Linked DNA regions of Homo sapiens: region 2 is linked to region 1. The links are contacts of gene promoters, found by promoter capture Hi-C in blood cells and fetal thymus (Javierre and others, 2016). All regions are on one chromosome and are shown on one strand. Each heading gives the region's core, a stretch centred on a gene start or on the middle of the fragment in contact. The rest is flanking DNA. Distances are from core to core; before and after follow the strand shown. Region 1 holds the start of PLA2G12A (phospholipase A2 group XIIA). Region 2 overlaps ENPEP (glutamyl aminopeptidase).

Evidence for each region. Contacts are between HindIII fragments. The CHiCAGO score rates a contact against its expected background, and 5 or more counts as called.
Region 2: a contact is called between a fragment that was not itself captured here and the fragment with the promoter of PLA2G12A in region 1, in 1 of 17 cell types (monocytes). The highest score is 5.0, in monocytes.

What each region holds. Positions count from the first base shown.
Region 1 is chr4:109,726,110-109,733,083 of GRCh38, forward strand. It overlaps PLA2G12A (phospholipase A2 group XIIA), which reads right to left and starts at 3,961. Exons shown (of 4, transcript NM_030821.5): 1 at 3,493-3,961. The coding sequence starts at 3,700. It also overlaps a transcript of CFI not described here. RefSeq lists enhancers at 3,350-3,419, 4,079-4,955 and a silencer at 3,750-4,089. The HindIII fragment of the contact is 6,805 bases long and covers 1-4,346 here.
Region 2 is chr4:110,531,030-110,538,003 of GRCh38, forward strand. It overlaps ENPEP (glutamyl aminopeptidase), which reads left to right. Exons shown (of 20, transcript NM_001977.4): 11 at 169-248. Among named protein-coding and RNA genes, the nearest start is that of ENPEP, 58 kb to the left of the region's middle. The HindIII fragment of the contact is 625 bases long and covers 3,809-4,433 here.

The DNA of each region.
Region 1 (6,974 bases), core at 2,711-5,210:
GTGTTCCTATTAACAGGGCTATGCTATATGCTCTTGGCCAAACTCTCTAAGTATGTACTAGAAACTACCCCCTCTCACTTACCCAAGGCTATGACTCCAATAATTCTCTCCCTCGTCAGTATTTCTACTCTCCACTGAACCATTCTCAAAAGCATACAAATGTGTTATTATTTTTCCTAATGCCCGAAAACTGTTCTTTCCACGGTCTTCCCCATATCAGTTAATGGTAATTCTGTCCTTCCAGTTGTTCAGGCCAAAAACTGTGGTATCATTTTTGACTTAACTCATACCTAACTTCTAAGCCATCAGCAAATCTTTTAGGTCCTTCCTTCAAAATATATCCAAAATCCAACTACTTCTCATTACCTCTGTTGCTACCAACCTGAGCAAAATCACCCGTCTTTTGTCTGGACTCCTGCATGCGTCACCCTGCTTCCATTTTTACTCCCCCACTCCCTTGACCCCTTCTGTTCTCAGCACAACAGCCAGAGGGATCCTAGAAAACATACGTCACTGAATTAATTAATGACTTATTCATCATTCTAAAAACATTTACAAGCCAGTTTTGTGTTCTATTTTTCAAAGGAAATCGAAAAGTTTTCTTCCTTAAATCTTCCTTGCTGTCAGGGAGAAAAAAGTTGAAGAAAATAACGGATCATCAAATTTATTTCCCTAAATACTTAACTCTCAATAAGGCCTTTTTCCTACCCAAGAGAGGATGGCCAAAACTAAGGGAGCAAGTCTCCATAATGCCAGTCCCTCAGGTAAAGCAAGGACATGTGCCCTTTATTTGACCAACCTCTCCCTACCATTAACTCACTCTTTTTTTTTTTTTTTAAAGCTCTCTTGATCTCTTTCGTGCAACTAAAAATACCCCTTAATCACCATGTTTCTCCAGATTTGGGATTGTTCTGTTTGGTTCTGATTTGGTCACCTGAATTCCAAAATATAGGAAAGGTTGAATTGTTCCAGAGAGACTGCTCGAGTAACAGCAATTTTATTATTATTATTATTATTATTATTTTTGAGACAGAGTCTTGCTCTGTCACCCAGGCTGGAGGCACGGTCTCGGCTCACTGCAACCTCCACCTCCCAGGTTCAAGCTATTCTCCTACCTCAGCCTCCCAAGTAGCTGGGACTACAGGTGTGCACCACCATGCCCAGCTAATTTTTGTATTTTTAGTAGAGACGGGGTTTCACCATGTTGGCCAGGCTGGTCTCGAACTCCTGAGCTCAACTGATCCGCCCGCCTCAGCCTCCCAAAGTGCTGGGATTACAGGCATGAGCCATTACGTCCTGCCTAATTTTTTTTTTCATTGAGATCCAATTATCTATCAGTATGGTGACTTGGACTTGAAACCACATGTCCGTTAAACGTAGAGTACTTACTAAGACAAAAAATTTTTTTTCACTGAGGCATATAACATTTCTTAAATTCTCAAATTCCTTTGTGTTTTTTTGTGCCAGAGACCTTCCTCTAAACTCCAAATAGTAAATTTTGAGAAGCCTGTAGAAGATGAAAAAGATTAAAAAGAAAGATTAAGCCAGGTGTAGTGGGGGCATGGCCTATAGTCCTAGCTATTTGGGAAGCTGAGGCAGGAGAATTGCTTGAGCCCAGGAGTTGGAGGCTGCAGGGAGCAATGATCACACCACTGCCCTCTAGCCTGGGCACAGAGGGAGACCTTGCCTCAAAAATATTAACAAAAAATAAAATAAAAAGACTAAAACAGTATTTTAACAAGGCTGGTATTCATTCAACTTCAGGCATGTTTTAAATGTAAATAAACTCTAGAACCCTAGACTAATAAATTTATGAAGACGACTCCTTCCAAGTCTTCCCTATCTCTGTAAATGGCAACCGTTTCCTTCCTTTGGCTCAGGCCAAAACCTTCAGAGTCATCCTTGACTGGCCTTTCTCCTCAGGTCCATTGCACTTGCTATTCCCTCTGTCTGGAATGCTGTTTCTCCAAATAACCACATTCCCTCCCCTTACCACGTGCAGATTTCTTCTCAAATATTCTTTCATCAGTGAGGCCTTTGCTGAACAACCCATTTAGAAGAGTAAATTGCCTCCAACATGGCCCCTCGTCTGCCCTGATCAGACTCCACACTTCCCCTAATTTTACTTATTTACTAGTTTACTGCCCATCTCTCCCTCACCAGAACTCAAGCTCCACGGACAGAGATTTTTGTCTGTTTTATTAACTGCTGAATCTCAAATTAGAACAACATCTGAAGCACAGTTGGGACTCAAATATTTGTATAATGAATAGGAATGACTAAGTAAAACTGTAACATTTGCTTTAGGAAAGGCAACTATTTGATCCTTAAATTATGCACTTAATCCTCCGAACAAGTTCTACAAGAATAAAAACATCTTCATGAAGCATACGTTTAGGTGGTAACGTTTAGGCACAAATTTAAGAAGCAATGCAACATGTCTCAGCACCTGTTCAGCGCTTTAAAGTATACAAGATACAGTTCATCCTTTACTTCTATTAACATAAAACTAGAAATTATCTTGAAAATTGCAGGCAGCATGTGGCATCATAGGTTTACATGATACCAGTTCCTTTTAAGTTCACCTATACAATCAGGTTCCAACAATGAAGTCACTGGATCCCCGATTATTTTCCGCTGCCAGCATAATGAGACTCTAACCTTGGCTAATCTTATTGGAAACATGATCTCCCAACTGCTCTCTTAACATTTTCAATTTCCAAACAAAAGTCCAATATTTTTCTGACCTATTAAAATATTTAAGCACTCAAAAATGTGCTACAAAAGAACTATCTCTGCCTGAAATACTGAGTTGATTAGTACTCATACCGCCACCAAACAAATTCTCAGGTTCAAAGAGAAAGTTCAAAAAATATTAAAAGAGTAAATGAAGATAACTGTATTAACGTTAACCAACAATGAGGAGGAGGCGGGTCACTGATATCTAAGGAAAGAAGAGTTATCGGAACCCTTTCTCAACACTCGAGTACACCAAAAGTCTGTACAAAGGTCGCAAGTTATTGTCTATGGGTTTGCAGAAAAAAAACCATTTAATATCAATTATAGAGAAAGTTAATACGGCATGGTTTTTAAATTCTCAGTTTGCTTCGCATGTTCATCCAATTTACAGAAGCAAAAATGAGCTAAAACCAGTCTGTTCCACTCTATTCCCATGATTCCTACGTCAGTAAGTTCTTCGGCAACTTGGTGCAATTGAGGGGGGGAAAAGGTAATTCAGAAGCAATGCAAATGGGACGGGGGGTACACCTCTCCGTTAGAATGTGACCTCTCACATTCTAACAATAGTGGTGCGAACTTGTACCCAGCTTGCTCAATCACTAGAACGGCAAGATTCTAGCAGTGGTTAAGTTTTTCCACAGCCGAAGGACACCGTCAAGGTCTGCCTTGCATCTGTCACTCACACCTCCAGGATCTCCGTCACCCCAATCCCCCGAAAGCACGAGCCCTCGCTGGGCCCGGGTGCCCCCTCACCGTCACTGCATTTATACTGGCAGAGACCGTCCTCGCCTCCCAGGAGGTCCAAGGCGGCGTTCAGGTACGTGTCTATCTTATGAACGCCGTTCCGGATGGTCTTCAGGGTGGCTCTCCAGTCGGTGGTCTGGGCCTGCTCCTGGCACCTGACAACAGCGGCCATGAGGAGGAGCAGGAGGGTGAGCGCGGGGCGCGAGAGCAGGGCCATGCGCGCAGCGCCGGGCTCTACGGGTCCCCGAGCCGCGGCGCGGGGCGCGTCCCCACAGAGTCCCCAGGACGCGCTAGGCAGCGGCGCGGGCCCCGGACTTGGCAGCAGCCAGCTCCATATCCACGCCTCCTTCCCGGCTGGCCCTCAGGATCTCGCTGTCTTTACGTGAACCGCCTCGGGCAGGCAGCGCCGTCGCGGGGACGCGCCCGCTCACCTGGACCAGCGCGCCCGCTCACCTGGGCCAGCAACCGTCCCCTGTGCGCCTGCGCCGGAGCACGGCGCGTCAGCGGCGCACGGGAGGGGCGGGACGCGCAGGGGTGGGGCGGGGCGGGGGCGGGGTTGGGGGGGGCGGGGAACCGGGGGAGGGGCGCGCGGGGCGGGAAACGGGGGCGGGGCCTCCATGCCCACGTGGTCTCCGCGGCACCCTCCCAAGACCCTTGGTCCTGGTTCACAAGAGAACCTTAAAAAGTACCCAGGCCTGAGCCCCTTTTCTAGGGAGCCTGATTACGTTGTCCCAGGTGGCAGTGGGCGTCGGTATTTTTTAAGAAAGCTCTCCGGGCTGTTAACCGTGAAGCAAGAGTTGCAGAGCTAACCCCGGTGGCCTAACCTGACCAGTCGGGGCTCAGCACAGTAGCCCCGAGAGACAAGCTTTTCTGGGTGTGGACAACATCGGAGAAAATAACCCCTGTGCCCCCTCGCAGAGAGCGCTGCGAGAGGTCCAGCTGAGTTTCCGGCTTGAAGACGTGGTTCCATTGGCAATGTGGGCAGAGTCCGGCTGTCAGCTCGCAGAGCAGGGCTTTTCCTCCTTGCGTCCTCTCCCGGTCCTCCAGATCTGCTGTGGCCGCGGTTGGGGGAGCGGGATCTGGAAGATGCCAACCCATGCCTTGGCGGTGCCTGACTCTAATCAGGACGAGCTAAATGCTAGTTTAGACTTTCCGGAAAAAGAAAATGGGCCAACATAAAAATCATAAAATTCTCCCCTGGTAAGGAAGAAACAGTAGTGTAAACTTAAATACAGTAAAAAGTAAAATAAATCTTAAGGAAGTCATTGTTTTTCTACTCAAGGGATTTTGTAACTTGATAGTTACAGTGACGTTTGTTTCTCTGTACCTACCACCCTGCCCCCAGCATTGTGCGGGATCCATAAATAACTATTGCAGTAGTACTTTGTATCAGTTGTAAATATCTGGTTATCTTAGTATCACAGCAGTTTCCAAGAATTTTACAGTAAGATCCAGAGCAATGTTGAAAGTATTGGGCAGACCAAGCGCGGTGGTTTACGCCTGTAATCCCAGCACCTTGGGAGGCCTGGAACTCCTGAGGTCAGAAGTTCGAGACCAGCCTGGCTGACATGGTGAAACCCCATCTCTACCAAAAATACAGAAAATTAGCTGGGCGTGGTGGCGGGCACCTGTAATCCCAGCTACTCGGGAGGCGGAGGCAGGAGAATCACTTGAACCCAGGAGGTGGATGGATGTTGCAGTGAGCTGAGATTGCACCACTGCACTCCAGCTTGGGGCACAGAGCGAGACTCTAAAAAAAAAAGAAAGTGAGTAAGTATTGGGCATAGGTGTGTCCTTTCTATAAGAATTACCAATAAGTTCTAGGTTTGGCCTTTTGTGTTTGTTACAAACTAAATGAGCTTATAATAAACGTTCAGTGCACAGTTCATAAAAATTACATCCCTCTTTATTGAGTGCTTACTATGTGCCAGGCACTTCATGAATATGATCGCTCACATTCAGAACACTACTTTACAAGGATGCAGACTTTGGGCAAGTTAGAAACATAGAAAGGCATTCCTCCCTACAAACAGGGTAGCCCAACAAACGGTGTAGCTCCTGGCTGGAGACTGCCTGCACTTCACTCAGCCCCTCAACCAGGAGTCTTGGGCAGTGATTAATTCCTACCACAATGGAGAAGGGGGAAGAATGTTCCCTGGAAGGTATTATTATCTTCCTCTTTTACAATAAAAGAGTCGAGGTGAGAAGTCATGTGACAGTATCTACTCCAAACCAAGGCCTCTGTCTTCACAAAATACCACAGATATTTTTATTTTTTAATTTTTAGACAACACATTTCAATACATTTTAAAAAGGGAACTTAGAATCATTGTCTTAGCTTTCTGGAACATTGGTTTCTCAGCTCCAAAGTATGAAAGTTGGACTAGATTACCTCTGAGATACCACCACCTGAATCCTTAAACCAGGCTTGGTTCTTACAACTCCCTAGTCCAGGGACAAGACTTTCAAAAGAAAGGATAGAATGTAATAAAATAACCTAGTTCCAGCCCTCAGTTATGACCCAAAGCCTCTCCTTTCCCCCACTTTCTCTATTTATTTACTTCTTTGTGATCTCATCTAATTTCTTACACCTTAACTACAGCCTATACTCTGAGGAATCAGACGTAGTTTTCTTTGTCTGATCTCTCCTTAGGGATTAAATTCTCAAATGCCAGTTCTTCTGGCTTGATGCAGCTGTTCTCTTTCTCTCAAGCAAATCTTTCCACTGTCTTCCCCATGAGAATCACCACCATTTTTGTAGAAAACAAGACTCTAAGTTTTATTTTCACATTCTTTTCACATTTAATCATTATATATTTGTTGTTCTGCTGCAGTAATTACAAGGTTTACGTTTTCCTCTTAATTGATGCTGTTAAATACCAGGGATCTGCACTGACCACAGACTATCTGTATAATTTGTAGGGCTCAGTGCAAAATAAAAATACAGAGCCCCTTGCTCAAAAATTAAGAATTTCAAGGTGATGGCCGGGTGCGGTGGCTCACGCCTGTAATCCCAGCACTTTGGGAGGCTGAGATGGGCAGATCACGAGGTCAGGAGATCGAGACCATCCTGGCTAACACGGTGAAACCCTGTCTCTACTAAAAATACAAAAAGTTAGCTGGGCATGGTGGCGGGCACCTGTAGTCCCAGCTACTCGGGAGGCTGAGGCAGGTGAATGGCGTGAACCCGGGAGGCAGAGCTTGCAATGAGCCAAGATCGTGCCACTGCACTCCAGCCGAGGCCACAGAGCAAGACTCTGTCTCAAAAAAAAAAAAAAAAGAATTTCAAGGTGATAACAGCAGAGCATTAAAATAAGTACAGAGCCCTTTTGACTGTGGGGCCTTGTGCCACTACACAGGATGCATGCTCTGATTTACCATATCATATAAATTTTTTTTTTTTGAGTCTGGCTCTGTTGCCCAGGCTGGAGTACAGTGGCACAATCTCAGCTCACTGCAACCTCCGCCTCCCAGGTTCAAGCTATTTTCCT
Region 2 (6,974 bases), core at 2,871-5,370, 810 kb after region 1:
TTATCTTCATCACTAAAATGTTGTATTAACTACATTAATTGTGTAGTATGGACTAGATAATCATTTAAAAGAAAAATATACTTGTCTATTGCTTTTTAGTGATTTTTACTCTTGAAATTTTATCTTTTAGTAATAAAAGTTAAATTTTTCTTTTTAAAAAAATTTTAGTTATACATGGAATATCCCAGTTAAATGGACTGAAGATAATATAACAAGCAGTGTGTTATTTAATAGGTCAGAAAAAGAAGGTAAATATTATTAATTGATTTATTTCTTCTTTGAATTGATGTACCACATTAAACTAATATAAGTATAAAGATGCAACAGTAAAGCTGGAACTTATGTAAACTTCAGCTAAGTGATCTCTTAAATAATTTATTGATGATTCCAAATCTTCATCTACAATCAGAACTGTTATACCTTGAGATATTCTTTTCAATGATTTATCTTGACTGACTGATTTATCATAAATACCCATATCCAAAGGAGAAGGGTCGCATGCCCAACAATTGGAAGATCAATGTGTAAGTTTCCTTCCTTCCTTCCTTCCTTTTTGTTTTTTCTTTTATCAGATAAGCCATTGAATTTCTTTAACTGTTATATGACAAGCCTGAGGATTTTTTTAATGCTCCCATTAAATTAGACCATTTTTTGGAAATATATTTGTGTTCTATCTGCACTGATTTATTTTTTCCTTACTTGAAAAATGTTAGAGTTGTATAAAAACAAGTAAACCTTCTCACGAAATTCCAGATTGATGAAAAAAATAATAGATAAGGCAAGCTTTAGCTGCAATCTTGGAAAGAATCCTTCTTTTTATATTTTTTCCATTGTATTTGTTTTGGTGTTTCAAAACTATTTCTTTTCTAAGACAAACCAGACTCATCTTTGCCCCATTTCATGAGGACTTGATTTAGAATAGTATTTGGTATGGACTTTCACTTGTGTCTTCTTGAAGATAAAAGTAGATCACTCATTCTTTATTTACATATGCCTAGTTGCTCATGTAAAATATTTTAAAATATTAATGAGGTATGATTTCTCCTGGCCAATAAATTTTTACTCTGTTTCCAGTAGATTGCCTTTTAAGAACAGCTTTACTGAGATATAATTCACATACCATAAAATTCACCTATTTAAAGTGTACAATCCAGTGTTTTTTAGTGTATTCACAGATGTGTAATCATCACCACAGTCAGTTTTAGAAACCCCATACCCTTTAGCTGTCATGCCTGCAGCCTCCCATATGCCCAGCCCTAAGCAACCACTAATGTATTCCCTACCTCTATAGATTTGTCTCTTCTGGTCATTTCACATAAATAAAAGTGTATATGCAGTATTTTGTGACTTTTCAATTAGCATAACGATTTCAAGGCTCATCCATGATATAGCATGTAACTCTACTTCATTCCTTTTTATTGCCAAATCATATCCCATTATATGGATATACCACCATTTGTTTATCCATTTATCAGTTGATAGATATTTGGATCATTTCCACCTTTTGTCTGTTATGAATAATGCTGCTATAAACATTTGTGTATAAGTTTTTCTGTGGATCCAGCATGTTTTTTCCACCTTTGGGCCTTTTAAAAAAAAACGTTTATTGTTAACAGTTTTTGTGATTTTTTTTTACTATTACTACAAACTACCAGCTTTGTCATTATAGAGGTGAAATCCTTCTGAAGCCCTTCTGCACAGGGATTGCTATTACAACAAAACTCTCTCTTGCTTATTTATGTTAATAATTATTGTAATATCGTGATCAAAAAAAATTCTAAATTTTTGCAGAATTCCCAGATCAATGCCACTTTGTTTTAGTATTTTATGCTGTGTTTCAATGCGAGGCTCTATCTTTTGTGGTCTTCTGACCATTTTCTTATTCATAAGTACACTTGCCAGAGGAAAAGGGAGAAGACAGAAAAAAAAAAGACATTTTCAACAATGTGTAACAGCACTGGTAAAAGACATAATAAGAACGTTAGAATTCCACTGGAAGGTTTTCAGTGGATTTGGTTTAACTATTACTAAATATTTTCCCCATTGGTCACCATAGTTAATTGAGGATTGGAAGAATATCTCGGCAGCTGTTTGATTTACTGTTTACAAGTTTGAAAGCGTGAATAATTCATCTACCCTAGTACAATTCACCCAGCACTTTCATGGAATGAAGTTTCCATACAAGTGAATTTTCCAGATAACTAAAGCTTACTCAAGTGCTTTGTAAAATGCATTTCAAGAGTTCACAATAGACATTGTTCTAATATGTGTTATGTACTCCTTAGAATATTTGGAATAATAAATTTAATCCTTAATTACTAGATTAATTCTTTCAAGCACGTATTGCTTATGTGCAAAACACAGAGATAAGAATGGGGGCAGTGCTGGAGCAAAAAAAAAAAAAAAAAGCAATCCTAACCCTTGTGTAGATGGTTGTCTAGGGATGGGTTTGCAGGCAGACATAATGCTGTGTCCTAAGTGCCTCTGTGGCAATGCAGATCACCAAAAGCACTCATAGAAGCATCAGCCCAGGTTTGGGGGTTCAGGAAGCATTCCTAAAAAATATCTAGGCTGAGAGTTCAGAGGCTAAGGATAGAGTATAAATGGGTGATAAAAATTGAATGTAGAGGAGACGTGTGCTCTGGACAGAAGCATGACTGTGAAAGTGAAAGAGCAGGGAGTTCTCACACTCCTTCGTATCCCTTTGTCAATACATTTCACACATTTTTTTGTTCTAACTATTGACCTATCTATGTCTCCCCTCCCCACAGAATATTCTTAGAGGAAATGGAGCTTATTTGTTATTGTTGTTCTGGATCTACAGCAGGCATCTAATAATTGTTTATTGAATAAATGAATGAATAAACAAATAAATGAAGAGGCTGATAGTTACAGAGCTTTGATGACAAATCTGCCTTTATCTGAAACTTCAGAATCATGTCTGGTCACTGAGCCAGAAGCAAACTAGAGGTCTTTTTCTACTTCAAAGTGTCTGCTCCATTTTTAGGCTGTACAATAAGTTCCTGTTTCCTGTTTAAGGACATCTTCAGCTCTCAGCTTAGAGCACGGATGACGAACATGTCCTGAGTGTACTAAATGGGCAACCAGCTCATGTTACCAGTCCTACCTCCCTCCTCTTGGTTTCTTTGATGATTCATTAGTTAGAAATTCTTCAGGCAATAGTGGGACTCTCCCCAAGGTCTTTTATTTACATTTCTATTGTATGTGCTATTTTAGGCGTTAAAACAACAACTAAACTCATAATTTCTAATGAAAGAAGAGAACCTCTATTATAAAACATTTTCTGGCTACTCCAGTTACCCTGAATAATCTCTCCTGTCATCATCTCCTGTCATAAAATATAGTATATTTTATCCTGTCACTTTCATCAGCCCTTATTCCTAGTATTATTACTTTATATTTTAAACAAAATCATTGTTATTAAGCTTCATATGTTCTCTCTTTTCGTTGTTTCTTTTTTTTTTTTTTTTTTTTGGGACAGAGTTTTGTTCTTGTTGCCCAGGCCGGAGTGCAGTGGAGCGATCTCAGCTCATTGCAACGTCCGCCCCCTGGGTTCAAGTGATTCTCCTGCCTCAGCCTCCCATGTAGCTGGGATTACAGGTGCCTGCCACCTCAGCTGGATATTTTTTTGTATTTTTAGTAAGGATGGGGTTTCACAATGTTGGCCAGGCTGGTCTTGAACTCCAGACCTCAGGTGATCTACCTGCCTCAGCCTCCCAAAGTGCTGGGATTATAGGCATGAGCCACCGCGCCTGGCCTCTCTTTTTTTTTTCTCAACTAAATTATAAGCTTCTTGATGACACAAACTACACATATTTCTTGTCTCCTGTCCACCCTATTATCAACAAGGTGCTACGTACATTCTGAGTTCAGAAAGTCCTAGTTTAATGAAGGGTTGTTTGCCCCAGAATGCTGTACTTTTAGAGGTTAACTGCATATATTTTAGTTATGTCTCCATCTTTTAGTATCAGCTGCTATTTTGGCTATTGTTAATGCATCCACATTTAGTAGCATACCACCTGTTTGCATTTAATTTACTGCTTTCTAACATTTAGAAGGATTGAAGGTTGTTATATGGTGTCAGGTAACCAATCTTGCTAAAACATAATATTTTAAAAGAGACATTTCTAAGTGCATAGGATCTGGGCTGGGTCTAAGTTCTAGGAGGTGGTGCGGACTCTACAATAGCTGTTTTTGCAACTCTTACTTCCAGATTTGAGGGTGTCCTCTGGATGGTTTGGACTATCCAGACTGTCCAGTCAGTTTCTATAGAAATAGATTTACTAAACATCTGTGATAATTATACATAAATATTTAATACCAAAATAATGATGGGCATGTATTTTTGTATTTGATGACAAAGAGGGAAGCACTTTCTTCATTTTTTCAAGCTAAGCCTCATGGAATGTGCAAGCTTTGATTGGATGATTATGGGTTCAGTTTTGCTGGTTTAGAAACTCAATTTGTCAGTTCAGCCCTAGTCAACCAAGTCTTGGAAGATCTACTTATCTAAACCAAACATACAAGAGATTAACTAAGAATGCTAACTTGTTAATTTACACAGTTAAAATATACTAGTTAGTGAATCTGAATACTCATGTCACCTAATTAGGTATCTCTTTCCAGGAAGCAAGTTACTTAGTAAGAATTAAAGGGCTGGGCGCGGTGGCTCACGCCTGTAATCCCAACACTTTGGGAGGCCAAGGCAGGTGGATCGCCTGAGGTCGGGAGTTCGAGACCAGCCTGACCAACATAGAGAAACACCGTCTCTACTGAAAAAATACAAAGTTAGCCAGGCATAGCCATCAACACTGAGGCAAGACCCTCTATCAGTAAAAAAGATTACAACTGGCTGAAGGCTCAGATGATTGTTAGCATTTTTAGTAATAAATTATTTTAGTTAACATATATACTTTTTTATACATAGCTGCCTGTAATGCCAGCTACTCGGGAGGCTGAAGCAGGAGAATTGCTTGAACCCGGGAGGCGGAGGTTGTAGTGAGCCGAGATTGCACCATTGCACTCCAACTTGGGCAACAAGAGTGAAACTCTGTCTCAAAAAAAAAAAAAAAAAAAAAAAAAAGAATTAAGGAAGAGTTAAGGTAGATTAATTATTTTACAGATGTCTTTAAATTGTGATAGTGTGATATATTGCATTAGCCAGGTGAGTCTAATTATTGCACTTTAGAAACAATCAATAGTGGTTTGGTGCAATAAAAGTTTCTTGTTCATGCAACAGTCTAAAGGAGATATTCCTGACTGTCATCTTTCCTAGGTGGCTCTCCACCAAATAATGACTTGGAAATCCTGTCTTCTTCCTTCTTATGGCTTTACCATCCCCTGCATCTTGGAATCCCTCACTGGTTCTTTTGCATCTAGCTCAAAGACAGGGGAAGATAATGAAGGAATCAGGCCTAGAAGTGCATCTATTACTTCTGCCCACATTTTATAGCCAGTTCTCAAATCATGTCCTGCAAGGAAGGCTAACATAGTCCAATTCTGTACCCAGGAAGAAAAGGGAACTGTGTGGTAAACAACTAGTAGGTCTCTGTCACATACACTGTTTTCTGTAGGACCAGACCTGTCAAATAGCCTGAAACACATGTTCCAGCTCAATTTGGCACCTACTTCCATGGGCACACTGGAGACACATTGACAGATCTTCACTACCCAACTCTCCTTTGCAGTTATTTTTTTTCAACTACCAAAATTATTGCTAATTGTAATCTTTCCTCATGATAATTGGGTTGCATTTTTCCAGTTTCCTATTCATTGCATGTTACATATTAAAGCCACAGGCATACCTGAGAGATACTGCAGTTTTGGTGCCAAGCCACGCAATAAAGCAAATATCACAATTAAGTGAGTCCATGAGTTTTTTGGTTTCCCAGTGCATATACAAGTGATGTTTACACTATACTGCAGTCTACTAAGTGTGCAATTGCCTTATGTGTAAAAAAGTATATATGTTAACTAAAATAATTTATTGCTAAAAATGCTAACAATCATCTAAGTCTTCAGCGAGTTGTAATCTTTTTTACTGATAAAGGGTCTTGCCTCAGTGTTGATGGCTGCTAGCTAATTAGGGTGGTGGTTGCTAAAGACTTGGGTGGCTGTGGCAATTTCTTAAAATAAGACAACACTGAAGTTTGGTGCATTAATTGACCCTTCCTTTCACAAAAGGTTTCTTTGAAGCATGCGATGCTGTTTAATAGAATTTTACCCACAGTAGAACTTCTCCAAAACCCTGGTGCTGCTTTCTCAATTAAGTTTATGGAATATTTTTAATCCTTTTTTGTCATTTCAAGATGCTCACAGCATCTTCACCAGGAGTAGATTCCATCTCAAGAAACCGCTTTCTTTGCTCACCCATAAGAAGCAACTCCTCACCTATTCAAGTTTTATCATGAGATAGCAACAATTCAGATACATCTTCAGGGTTCACTTCTAATTCTAGCTCTCTTGCTATTTTCACCACTCTGCAGTTACATCCTCCATATAGGTCTTGAACACCTCAAAGTCATTCCTGACGGTTGCAATCAATTTCTTCCAAACTCCTGTTAATGTTGATATTTTGACCTCCTCTTATGAATCATGAATGTTCTTAATGGCTTCTAGAATGGTGAATGCTTTCCAGAAGGTTTCTAATGTACCTTGTCCAGATCCATCAAAGGAATCATTATCTATGACAGCTATCACCTTACAAAATGTATTTCTTAAATAACAAGACTTGAAAGTCATTCCTTGATCCATGGGCTTCAGAATAGATACTGTGTTAGCAGCTGTGAAAACATTAATCTGCTTGTACATTTCCATAAGAGCTCATGGATGACCAGGCACACTGTCAATAAGCAGTACTATTTTGAAAGGAATCTTTTTTGGTGAGCAGCAGGTCTCAACAATGGGCATAAAATATTCAGTAAACCATTCTATTAACAGACGTGCCGTCACCC